2 separate regions of the Homo sapiens genome follow, and region 2 is linked to region 1. The links are contacts of gene promoters, found by promoter capture Hi-C in human tissues and cell types (Jung and others, 2019). All regions are on one chromosome and are shown on one strand. The core of a region is centred on a gene start or on the middle of the fragment in contact, and the rest is flanking DNA. Distances in the headings are between cores, read along the strand shown.

What was found. Contacts are between HindIII fragments. The study calls those that stand out against the background at their distance.
Region 2: a contact is called between a fragment that was not itself captured here and the fragment with the promoter of KCNS3 in region 1, in 3 of the 25 tissues and cell types used here (mesendoderm cells, spleen and thymus).

What each region holds. Positions count from the first base shown.
Region 1 is chr2:17,874,807-17,881,168 of GRCh38, forward strand. KCNS3 (potassium voltage-gated channel modifier subfamily S member 3) reads left to right here and starts at 3,861. Exons shown (of 3, transcript NM_002252.5): 1 at 3,861-4,000. It overlaps LOC124907737 (a long non-coding RNA gene), which reads right to left and starts at 1,756. Exons shown (of 2, transcript XR_007086226.1): 1 at 559-1,756. RefSeq lists silencers at 3,472-3,631, 3,642-3,841, 3,932-3,981. The HindIII fragment of the contact is 5,451 bases long and covers 394-5,844 here.
Region 2 is chr2:18,090,268-18,097,174 of GRCh38, forward strand. No RefSeq gene overlaps it. Among named protein-coding and RNA genes, the nearest start is that of KCNS3, 220 kb to the left of the region's middle. The HindIII fragment of the contact is 6,625 bases long and covers 1,648-6,907 here.

The DNA.
Region 1 (6,362 bases), core at 2,611-5,110:
TGTACTTGAAGATCATAAAGATTTAAGGAATTTTTCTTTTTCTTTTCTTTTTCTTTTTTTTTTAGACAGGGTCTCTCTCTGTCACCCAGGCTGGAGGGCAATGGCACCATCTCTGCTCACTGCAACCTCCACATCCCAGGTTCAAATAATCCTCCTGCCTCAGCCTCCCAACTAGCTGGGACTACAGGCATGCACCACCATGCCTGGATAATTTTTGTATTTGTTATATAGGCAGGGTTTTGCCATATTGCCAAGGCTGGTCTTGAACTCCTGGACTCAAGCAATCTACCCGCCTTGGCCTTCCAAAGTGCTAGGATTACAGATGTGAGCCACTGCACCCGGCCTTAAGAAACTTTTGATATAAAAATAATACCACAGGGCAGTTAGAGTAAGCATACAATAATTTTGTGAAAAGAGCATGATCATTGTAGCAATAATCTGAAATAAAAACATTCTAGCTGATTGAGAACTAAATTTAATTTAATGTAAATTTAGTTCTGAGCTTCCTGGCAGCCAAGCAAAGACAGCGATATGATGGTTTACATGTTTTATTTTTACCTGGCAAAAGGTAGCGTAGAAATAAGGGATTTAGGTTTTGACTAGGATCAGATGAAACTGGGCAGCCTTCAGTAATTCACTTCACAAACATGCAGATCCAACAGAAGTTCCTGGAAATTCAGTCTTCAAGGAGCTTATTGTCTAGTGGAAGACAAACAGTTAAAATCCCATATGGTAGATTCTATGAAAGTGGGAGGCAAAGGCTGCTGAGGGAGTGTGGAAAGGAAACACACAACACACAACCCAGGATGAGAGAGGCGGCTTCCCAGAGGGTCGTGATTATGATGTGATTATCCACTGAATCTCATCCTAAGGGAGAAGGGGTCTGTTGGGCAAAGCAAAGCTTGGTGATGGGGAACTGTGTTCTTAGCTGAGGAGGCACTGCTGTGCATTCAGAGAGTCAAGAAAAAGCATGGTGGGTCTGGGGAGTTGCAGGTGTTTCATGTGCTCAGACTAACTGGAGTGATATTCAGGCAGCTGGGTAGAAAGTGGCAAGTGAGAGGCACACACCAAATAAACGCTGCTCATTATGACTATACCCCTCACTCCCAACCTTCCTGCCAGAGATGAGCACATCTTCATTTTCACCTGCAGACCTGTTCCAATTTAAGAAGCTAATGAGCACTTCCCTTTCCTTCAGGACTAAGGCAAGTACTAATCTAGCTGATTTCTGTCATTTGAACTTTAGTGAGAATAAAAAGTCGGGGACAGGTTTGGCTCTGGGGAGGGAAGGGAAGACATGGATGTGTGATAGGTGGGTAAGAGAGGGAGACCTCCAAACGAGGCCTGGAAGACAGACTGAAATGCATCCCACATTAGTGGCATGTGTCTCCATCCACTCCAGGAGTCCTCTGAAACCACAGAGGAGTGAGCATTATTGTCAACGATGATTAAATGATTGACCCCTCACAGATTAAATGCATGGTTTATCTAGATGTTTCTCTATAGGCACAGTTAATTAAGAGGGAACGGGATGTCATATCGGGAGGCATAAAGACTGGGCAGGAAGTGGGTGTGTGGGGAAAAGGAGGCAGTTAGTTCACAGCATGCCCCCGGTAATGGAGACTGGGGTTGGGGAAGGGGCTACATACCGTGTGTGTGAATTTACCACTTTGCCTAGCTCAACCTTGGTCAACATTCAAGAGTAAACTTTTGGGGAGCAGACCTGCCTCAGGGGTCATCCGATGTGGTCCTTTTTATTATTTCATTGGCTTCACATGATTACCCTGGGAGAGAGGAAATTTCCTTACAGATGACAAAATCAGGGCTGAAAGACGAAGTGGCTCCCTGCAGGGCTCAGCAGGGTAAGAAGTCCTGTCTGTCTCTGTCTCAGATCTGTGGCCCTTCTCTGTGCCCACTCCTACATGCCCACCGTGGAGGCCCACCCCTTCTGTCCTCAGCTCCTGCAGATGCACAGGGGCCCTTACTGGCTCCCACTGTGTGTGCCTTCCCGACTGCTCACATGTTCCGCCCAGACCCCAGGAGAAAGACCTCACTGCCAACTCTTCTGCACTGCAGGTGCCTTCTGCAGTGCTTAGAGATTCTGAACATATTTCCTTCTCAAGTAAACCATGCTGGACTTTTTGGATAAACTTAGTGATTTTAAAATGATTAAATAGGTAACTGCTGGGAGAGATCTGGAAGCATTCTTCTAAGGTGTTGATAAAATGTAAATATATTTTTAGAACAATCTTAGAGCTTATGCTAAAGATGAACTATGTAAGAAAGTTACCTTCTTCAGCCACTTGTAAATAGCAGTGTGGACCAATGCTTTGGATCCTCTTCCACAGGAGAGGAGACAAGATTGGAGGAACCAAAGAACCATGGAATTAGGGACAAATGGCTCAGAACAGTGCTCTGCAGACACATGCATCTGTACTTTGCTTCCCAGAAGCCAAATGAAACTGTTGGAGCTTGGTGGGCTCCAGGCCTCAGGGGGAAGACCACCCTAGGCTTTATCTTTTCCTCTGCCCTTCCTGCCTGCTGTTAGCCTCTCCTCTGGACCAAAACTCCCTTTAAGGGGAAAACCTCCTCTTTGAAGCCCACAAGATACGGTGAGGATTACTGCCTTTTTCTGATTTCCAACGTGGGTTTTTCATTAAGCAAAGAACAATTAGAAAACCCACACATAACATAGGGTATTCAGTAAGTTCAGGAAAGTGTTTTCCACCATCTCTTTGCCCCCATTCCCTCCCCAGCGCTTGGCTCAAGGTCTGGAGCTTGAATCTGCATCGTCTTCCTAGGTGCTTGCCTGAGGTGAGTGGTCAGCGGGTGCTGGCTTGGGGGCAGCTGGCAGGGCGTATGCTGCGGGTAGGAACCCAGGGAACACTGGGCGCCTTAGCTTGGAGCAGCTGGCTCCGAGGAATTGTTCCACGTCTGCACAACTTAAAAATCTGCAGTTTGGGGGCGGGAGGGGGAGCGCGGGGGTGGGTCCCGAAGCGTCCCATTTCTCCTCCTGGCTGTTAACTGAGCGCTCTCGCTCAGTGCAGCGAGGCCAGCGATGCCTTCTGGACCACACGCTGTCCTCGCCGAGGTCCTGGTTTGTTCCTCAACGTCGGCTGAAGGCATCGTCCCCTGACTTCCTCTTCCATTCGTCCTTCCGAAAGGGGACCCGACTGGTTCCTCTTCTACATATGAGGCGCATCTGCTTGGTGCAAATGTCCAAGCACCTCTTCTGACTCGGTGAGTGGAGGAATAAGACAAAGCATCTTGTTCTGCACTGTGCCTGAGTCTTCAGGCAGCGGGACCGATGGCAAACATTGGCAGGAACTGGAGCTATATGTACTCTCCTTCGCACTTTGTTTTAAAACAAGTTTGGGCCTCGCGATTTCCTGAGGAAATCCAGGCAAATTAGCAAAGTGTCGCTTGGGCCGCGACTTTAGAAAGGCGGTTGCCCCAGCCGCCGGGGCCGCGGGGGAGGTCATCTTTTTCCCGCAGGGCCACGGCGCTTCCGGCCCAGGAGGGCGCGCAGGTGGGAGGCGCGGGGCGCGCTCCTGGTCCCACCCGGACAGCGCCTGCCGCTCCGGGGTGACTCTGCACTTGGGCCTGGGCGGGGGCGCGCGGCCGGCAGGGCAGCATCTAGGTCTATGGGTCTGTCCGCCTGTCTGGCGGTCGGAGCCCCGCAGTCCTCAGCCGCCCGCGCCCTCGGCCCGGGGCGCCCGGCTGCGGGCCCGAAGCGAGGGGCTGGCGGAGCTGCGACCAATGGGGCGGCGGCCGAGCGGCGGGCCCCGCCCCGTCCCGTCCGGCCCCGCCCCGCCCGCAGCTCCCGGGAGCCTCGCTCTAGCGGGGCGGGACCGACGGACAGACCGGCCGACGCGGGCCACCCCGCTCTCCTCGCCGCCGCGGCGGCAGGCGCGGGGCCGCGCCGCGAGGCCTGATCCCTGCAGCGCGGGCAGGCGGCGTCGCAGAGCGGAGCTAGCTGGATGCGTCCGGACTCCTGCAGGTACCTGGCTGGCGTCCCCACCTCCCTGCGCGCTCCGGAGACTTCTCCGGGCGACCCTGCAACTTTACCGCGCCTTCCCCCACCTTTTGCTGCCCCAGTCTCCTGTGGTCCAGGTCGCGGGTGCACGACCCCGAGGGTCTACGGCCGCAGAGCACTTTCCGTCCTTCTGGGCGTCTGGCCCGCGGCGCCCGCATCCTCTGGTCCCCAGAGCCCGCCGTCGCTGGAGCCCTAAGGCTCCGCCTGTTGCGTGAACTGCGGGCTGTTGAAGCGGTGGCTGGGTTGATTTGAAAGCCTCGGGGAAGGTATTTAGGATCAGCTTTCGGGGAGTGGGGTGGGCTATGGTCAGGGGGAGGACCACCTGGAGGCGGGAGAATCGATGAGCCGAAGAAAGGCGGCACCTCGCGTAGGGGCATCCCCGGGGCGTTTCCTTGGCCGGGAAGCCGTTCCTTCCCTTCCTCGAGAGGAGGCGCTTTCCTGGCGCTTGTAAATGCTTCCCGGGCCGTCTGCTCCGCCTTCTTTGTCATTCCTCCCCTCCCCTTTGCCCTGCAGCTGTGCTAGGCGCCCCGCGACAGTTGCAGGGAAGAGCGAACCCAGGGCCCTTGCTCTCGTGCAGCGCTGCGCCCTGGGTGGGGACGGCGTGAGGCTTGCAGCGCAGGTGTGGAGTCACTTGCGGACTCTGCGTTTGGATCAGTGGCAGTGGTGGGGAAGGGTCACCCCGGGGTCAGGAACTCCTCTTTTTTTTTTCGCGCCTTTCTGGGTGGCTGCCCGACCTCCTGAGGCACCTTGGCTAGCAAGCGAGCCAGTCTTGCCGGCAGGGGCCGCGGCGAGCCTGGCTGGGCGCCTTTCGCATTGCAGGGCTTGTCCTGCACCCCCAACCCCGCTCTGTCCCTTCTCGTTCATTTGGAGAAAGGAGCACCTTTTGCATTCTTGATGTCTCCCCCCGGTTTTGTCTGGGGAGACCGAGCCGAAAGCTTCACTCGGGTGGCCCGCAGCAGGGGCAGAGGACAGCAAAGAGCTACCTCCACCTGCCAAAATGACCCAGGGGCCCTGGTTTGGTGCCAAGGCGTGAAGTGGGGGGAGGGGCGGTAGGTGTTCCTTACGTTCCTGCCGGAGAGTAGCTTTGTGGTTGGCCCGGAGCCTTCGTTCGGGTTTTTTGTCTTTCACCCTACCCTCTGAAAATACTGGAGCAGATGAGTACAAACAGTTCAGAAGCCTTTCCTGTTTCTTTCCCTGTATTTACTCAAGCGATTTGCGTAACCATTCACTTGGAACTGTGTAAGTCACTCCTAGTTGCCCCCCTTCTTAGACTATTTGCAAATACCTGCCCAGGTAAACAGGAAGCACGCACCTATCTCTTAGCTGAAGGCATATGCCCTCGTGCTTTGTCTTCCCTGCATATCTGGAGCCGAAGAGGTGGCTTTGATTCTCTAGCTGAACTTGGTGTAATGTGCAGGCTCCACTTCTTACCTGGGTGGTGACCTTCTTGAGGAGATTGACTCGTTCAGTATGCATTTCCAACCAGCCCGCCATGGGCCAGGCCCCAGGATGCACTCGGGGACAGACAGCAAATGGATGATATAATTTCTGCACCCAGTCTAGTCTGTTCTTTCTTTCTCACCAGCTTCCCTTCTTCTCTTGTTCTAATATTATGTTTGTCGTTTCTGAACTAGGAATTGTCAATATTGGGATCCGGAGAAGGTCATATGAAGGTGCCATAGAACTCTGAATCCAAAGCATGTTGTGAATATACTAAGGAGACTTGCGGGATCAGTATTAATTGAATCTTTTGTCTGACCCATAATTGCCTGAATAGAGCCATTGATGAATGCAGCTACGCTAAGGTTTTGCTGGTCAAGTGTATGAGGGCAAATTGGGAGGTCAGAAGCAGTCTTTGTTCTGTTCTGAAATATTATAATATTAAAAATCCAAAGCTCTGGAGCTTGAGTTTGCCAGCAAAGCACCAACTGAGTATCATCATCTTCTTTTAAGAAGGAAGGGGGAGAGTGGGAACTGCAGCTCCCTCCTGTCTTCAGTGGGTTTTGCCCTTCACTGTAATTCTTCACAGACGTGCATCCCTCTGTTCTACCACCCATCTCAATCTGCCCTGTGTCTGGCATTTGCCATTGGAATGTGTGTCAGCTTTGAGAGAGTAGGCACCACAGGGTTTTCCTCCTCCTTTTCCTTCTATTTTTTAATAGATAACATTTATTAGCTGCATACTATATATCAGATACTCTGCTAGGCACTTTTCCAGGCATTATCTCATTTAATTCCCATAACAACTGCATGAGGATGTGATGCTTGCTTTCTTCACTGCAGTATTGCTGTGGGAGCCAGCAGTAGATGGAACCCCCCAGGTGCA
Region 2 (6,907 bases), core at 3,710-6,209, 220 kb after region 1:
GGGCAGCTTGTAAGAACTAGATTCCCAGACTCACCATACGAGATTCTGACTCTAGTGTTGGAGGAGGCACCCAGGAATTTGCATTTTCAAATGTTCAGAAAGAATGATTTTCTTACATATTTACATACTTAGTTCTAAGTTATCTTAGCTAAAAGATGTGTACCCACTAATTAAACAATTATGTCACCCTACGCCAATTGCGAGATACCTTTTCCAGCCATTTAAGTTTGTACAACAAAGAATTTTGGCCCCAAACTGACTGGATTTTTCTTGGCAACAAAATCTAGTCCTGAGCTCTAATTATATCTGTAGCAAAACCTCCGTAACTTAGGGGGGTTGGTCATGCAGGCTCTATTCTTTAGAATAGAGTATATTCTACTTAATTCTGAACTCAAATAAATCTTCATTCCCCACCCAGGTTGGACTTTTTACTTGTTGGCCAAGACACTTAAACATCTTGTAGGCGAATTCAAAAGATCTTCTAGAATGACCAAATTCTAATTATTTTCATTTTTCTTCTTCTTGCTTGTCAGGACCAAATATGTTTTGGATATTAAAATTATTTTTGATTGGATTTTATTGATCTTTTTTCCACATTGTCTGAGTAGCAATCCCAAGTTTCAAGGTTATTGTCTTTGGCACTGGATACCAATCAACAAGGAGACAAAACCTGGATATTCGGAGTGTGAATATCAGCTCCATTACTAGGGAAAATCCAGCCTGTGGCTGGTAGCATGCTTCCTCTAGTTTGCCTTCCCTATCCATTCTCATTCAAGACTTTGGGACACCCCATCAGAGGGAGAGACTGAAAAGCAGATGCTTGCTGAATGAACTGGCAATGAATTAGTTTTTCAGAACCTGAAGAGCAGGAGTGAGAACAAGGCCACAAATGGGTACTGTTTGTTAATAAATACTAACTTCACCCAGGCAAGGAACATGGCACTTACCAAGAGATAAATATTTCTCCAGAAAGTTCAAGAATTATACTCCAAATAGGAATTCCATTAATGGAAATAAGGGGACAGGGAATTAGGAATTGCTCTGAAGTTCTGAGCAGTAGATAGGATAAATAGTTGTTAAACTGTTTTGAAAATTAGAAAGTTCTACCCAACTGCAAATTACATTAATTATTGTGTCTAAAGGACTCTGTTGAGATTGTGTCAGGAGAATCATTCAGGTTAAATTATACTGGCAAGAGATTTTCTGTTCCCCGTACTTGAGTGACAATTTTTTGTTTTGTTTTGTTTTGAGATGGAGTCTCACTCTGTTGCCCAGGCTGGAGTGCAGAGGTGCAGTCTTGGTTCACTGCAACCTCCGCCTCCTGGGTTTAAGCAATTCTCCTGCCTCAGCCTCCTGAGTAGCTTGGATTACAGGTGCCTGCCATCACGCCCAGCTGATTTTTGTATTTTTAGTAGAGACAGGGTTTCACCATGTTGGCCAGGTGGGTCTTCAACTCCTGACCTCAAGTGATCCAACTGCCTCGGCCTCCCAAGGTGCTGGGATTACAGCCACTGCACCTAGCTGAGTGACAATTTTAACTTGTTGACATAAACAAAAGAGGTTAAGAGAGAGAATCCATTGAATGGATGGGGAAGTCTATTTAACACAACAGTAACAAACATGAGGTATTTGGATTATCCACAACCTTTCTGCTTCATTAGTGTGGCTAATTAAGAGTTGACTGTGGAAATTTTTATTTAGCTATGCTTTTTAATATCAAGAATTTCCATAGATTAGTGGGAAGGCTGGCATTTGCTTGTCTGATTCACCATTAACTACATAAGTTAATGGGTGTCTTAGTTTGTTTGGGCTGCTATAACAAAAATAGCATAGGCTGGGTGGTTTAAACAAGCAGCATTTATTTTTGATTCTTCCAGAGGTTGAAAGTCCAAGTTCAAGGTGCTGGCAGATTCAGTGTCTGGTGAGGACCCTCTTCCTGGTTTATAGAAGGCTGCCTTCTTGCTGTATCTTCATATGGCAGAGAGGGGGAATGACCATCTGTCTCCTGTCTCTTCTTATGAGGCTGATAATCCCAGTCACAAGGGCTTTACCCTTATCATCTAATTACCTTCCAAAAGTCCCACCTCCAAACTCCATCACATTGGAGATTAGAGTTTCAACATATGAATTTTGTGAGGACAAAAATATTCATTCCACAGCAATGGGCCTTTAGATAATGGAGTGGAGTAGTTCATTTAAGATTCCAGTCTTTTGAAAGATGTCTGTGGTTGAAATTTGTGATGTCTACAGTTAGCCCCTGACTTGTCTTTTTCTCCTGGAAAGGAAAGATAGTGATATTGCCTCTAACTCTGTCTTCTGGCAGAGCTGACTGTAGCCCCTACTCTAGAGACTGGGAAATTCGATAGGCTATAAATACTACTACCTCCCTGTAATCCCCGGTTCAAGCCACCATTCTTTTTCCAGGACAACCGCCTCCTACCTGATCTTCATGCTTACACTCCTGCTTCTTACAGTCTTATTCCCACTCAGAAGCCAGAAAGCACTCTTTTAGAATGCAAAGAAGAATATGTCACTGACCTCAAAACCTTCTAAATCTTTCTCTCCCAAATTCCAAAATTCTGAATGCAGCTGCTCAGAGCCACATGACCTGCCCCCTGGCTACCTCTTCATTGTCATGTCCTGCTATTCTTTTTGTTCACATTTCCCAGCCGTACCCACCTCATTTGCTGTTTTGAGAATATGATGAGCATGCTTTGTACAAGCTGTTCTCTCTTGCCCCAGATAGCTTCATGGCTTAATCCATCACAGCATCTGAGTCTCTTCAAATGCCCTTTCATCAGAAAGACCCCCCTGTTATGAATTGAATTGGGCCCTCCCACTTCATATGTTGAAGCTCTAACCCCCAGCATTTTGGAATGTGACTGTATTTGGATATAGGGTCTTTAAAGCGGTGATGAAGTTAAAATGAAGCTGCTATATATATGTGTGTCAAAACATCACACCGTACAGCAAAAATATGTATAATTATTATGTGTCAATTAAAAACAAAATAAAACTTAACAAATGAGTTTATTAGTGTGGACCCTAATATGATCTGACTGTTGCCTTTAGAAGGAGGAGAAATTTGACACACACAGATGCCAGGGATGCAAGCACATTGAGAAAAGGCCACATGAGGACACCACGACAAGCTGGCAATCTGTAAGCCAAGGAGAGGCCTTAGAATAAACCTTTGATGTTGGACTTCCAGCCTCTTAAAAACTGTGAGAAAATAAATTTCTGTTGCTTAAACCACTCAGTCTGTGGTGTTTTGTGATGGCAGTCCTAGCAGACTAATATGTGCCCCTCGACCACTCAATCAATAGTATGCCTCTATTCCCCTAAGCCAACTTTATTTTCATTCATAGTACCTATAGTTTGACATTATATATTTTCCTTTTCATTTATTTTCTGTCTCACCTACTTACACATAAGCCCCATGAAGACAGGGACTTCACTATGTTTCCTGTTATAAAGCCCAAGACAGTGCCTGGCACATAGCAGGTGCTCAATAGATATTCATTAATAAATAAATGAATGGACTAGGTTGTTAAGATTTATTACCTCCCTGGTCTTTCTCCACCTGTCTATATTCTATCTCTATGAAGCCTTCTTTGACGCCTGTGCCCTTCCTGATTTTTCTGACACCCTCTACTCCCAGGTCTTCCCTGACAGCACCGACACTCAACTTACCCTCCTGGCCCCTGGTCACTCATCGCTTCTTTAATGCTCTGACATGCTGCTTTGTCTTCTGTTTACTATTTTTCTCCAGCAAAGGGAAGTTTCTCTGAAAAGGAGTTTTGTGTTTGGTTTTAAGTGCTATGCATCTCTACTTTTGGCTAATGCGTGTACTTTCAGCATTTCCCTAGCACCTGAATTGCATAGTTGGCCTGGTCTTTATTTTGCTGAGTGATCCTGAAGTAAGTGTCCTCAGACACATTCAACTAATATTTGTTCAGCCCAAGTAGACACAAAAAAGGTACAAAGAAAACACTAATCAATAACTTTGCCTTGCTCTGCTGAAAGCTTGCCATTTTGATGCTCTAAAGACTGTGTTCCATCTAATGGCTGAGAGGTGATGCCACAGTCAGAATTGGGTCCATCTGCAGGACTTGCCAGATTAAGACAATGTGGATGACTGGGTTATTACTTATAATAGAAGCTTGGGCAGGAACCAAGTATTTGTGCAAATTCTCAGACTAGCGTTCAAGGCCCTCCCGACACTGCTTTAATGTCTCATTTCCCACTCTCCCATGTGAAGCTTTTGTTTCACTCCCAACAGAATGCTTTGTTTCCTGGGCACACCCTTGACTTTCCTGCTTTCCAGTCTCTGATTTCTTTCTCCCTGGTTATGAGATAAGCAGCTGAGGAAAGATAGATATTACCTTTTCTTTGATTATAAATTGTACTTTCCCCACCCTTCATTTCCATTTATACAATACTACCTATCCTTCAAGTTCATTCTCAGCTAGCAGCGAAAAGTAGCTAACAGTTATTGAGTAGTTACCATGTGCCAGGAGCTATCTTTAGTTTTTGACATGGAATAACTCATTTGATGACTATAAACATGCTACACAATAGGAACTACAATTATCTTCATTTTATAGACAAGGGAACAGAAACAGAGATGCCATCTCCAATTCTACAGGAAACCTCTCCTGATCACTGCTATGTGATGTGATTGCTTCCGTCACTGAGCCTCAGTGGCACATGCTCTTTCCCTCATGTCATTTAGCTTATATGTTCTTTTAGAATAGTTCTGGGTATACTTGTCTGACTCATGCTGCTGGTCTATGCACTCCATAAAAGGGGAAACCATGTCTTAATATCTTTTTTTATTCATCAACTGCTTCTTGCTGAACATAAGCACATAAGAACTGTATCCTGCAAGATTGATTTCTTGGCACTGGAAGCCCTAGGTTGGTAAGAAAGTTTCCAGGACTCAGACCTTGATGCAAAGGAGTACAAAAGTAATTCCAAATAAGTTTTTTGGATGTGATTTCTGGAGGATGGGGGTTTTGGCATGCATTGGCCCAGTACAAGGGCTCTTAAGAACAGACCCAGCCAGCAGCTCAAGTGCTGTAAACTCCCAGAGACCAGAGATCAGGCCTTTGCCATTATTCCTCTTTGATGATGGGGGAGGTTTGGAATAGTTTTTAGAAATTCAGTGGACATGGAACTCATTCAGGAGAATTGGGCTCCTCCCATCTGCTGGGCACTAGGCTTGAGGTATAGATATGTCTTCGTATTATTTTATTTTGTCCCTCCAGTCTAAGTAGGCCAGGAATAATCTGAGTTCTATTCATCTTTTCAGATCAGTTTTCCTCTCTAGGAAGTTTCTTCTTTCCTCATCTCATCTTCTGATCTTATCCGACACTAGCATGTGTGCCATTCACAGGGCATGAAGTGCAGATGACCCTGTGTGACATTTCACTTTCCATGGGTGTGTACCCATGGAAATACATTAAAAGGGAAAACCATGTCCATACATTTTATCTCTTGAACACTGCTAAAAAGTCCCAAAGACCAGAGATGGAACCTTATACATCCTTCAAGTTCCATGTTTGGGTGCATAGCCTAGACAGATAGCTTTGTGGTGGGTCCACTAATCATTCCCCATATGCTTATCGGCATTAGAATAGGTACTATGGGATCAGATGATTGAACAGGTAATCAAGGAAGCCAGGGTTCACCACAAGCATATTGATGACAAAGAGAATTTCATGAAAGGCTTTTGGAGAGTCTAATATTATATATTAATGGACGCTATGAAAATCGTCCATAAATTATAGACAGAGGCTTTAGAAATGTTAATTAACTCACTCAAGTTGCCCAACTAAAAAATTGCAGAGCCAAGGTTTGAACTCGGGTCTTTTGAAACTGTCTTTGCTTTTCATACTTACTATACTTACATCTTAAAGGACTGTGGAACTAACAACCATTCCTAAACTCACTGACAGGGGTAGTTAAGTTGAACATTTCCAGAGCTCTGTACTCTAGTCTTTTTTTTTTTTTTTTTTTTGAGACAGTGTCTTGCTCTGTCGCCCAGGCTGGAGTGCAGTGGCACGATCTCGGCTCACTGCAAGCTCCGCCTCCCGGGTTCACGCCATTCTCCTGCCTCAGCCTCCTGAGCCGCTGGGACTACAGGGGCCGCCACCACGCCCGGCTATTTTTTTTTTTTTTTTTTTTTTTTTGTATTTTTAGTAGAGATGGGGTTTCACCGTGTTAGCCAGGATGGTCTCGATCTCCTGACCTCTTGATCTGCCTGCCTCAGCCTCCCAAAGTGCTGGGATTACAGGCGTGAGCCACCACGCCCGGCCCTGTCTGCTATTCTTAACAGCTCTTTCCACAGAATTTATTTGAGTCAAGTTTCCATTTTCTTCAGTCACTGGCTTTATCAATGTGCAAAGCCATTTAAAATTAATTAAATTGATTCTTATCTGCAAACTGGTGCTGGATAATGCTTTTGTAGTTGCCAAAGGAGCTTTCCCAAAGGCACGTTAATGATATATTAGTTTTCCACTGTCTTTTTCTTTTTGTTGGTTCCATATTCTAGGCCTTCCACTCCCCAGAATAATAAGTGTGGCTGTTATTATTACACGCAAGGTAGCAAAATGTTCCATCCTCCCAGAGAGATAGAATCCCCATTAGGCTATGGTAACAATGGTCCAGGCTTTGCCCTTTGTCTGAGAGCTTCTCTCAGATAATGACGGGAACTTGTTCTTGGATGTGCTGAAGTCATTGTCAGACATTATGGCTATTGAGACACTATCTTCCATAGTGGCTGATGGGAGCCTGGGTTATTGCCATTATGCTAAATGAAAAGGAAATGACAAATCCCGAAAAGTCCATGAACACAATTTTATTTTGTTCCAAAGTGCCTTTGTATCATTATGTGAAATAATGA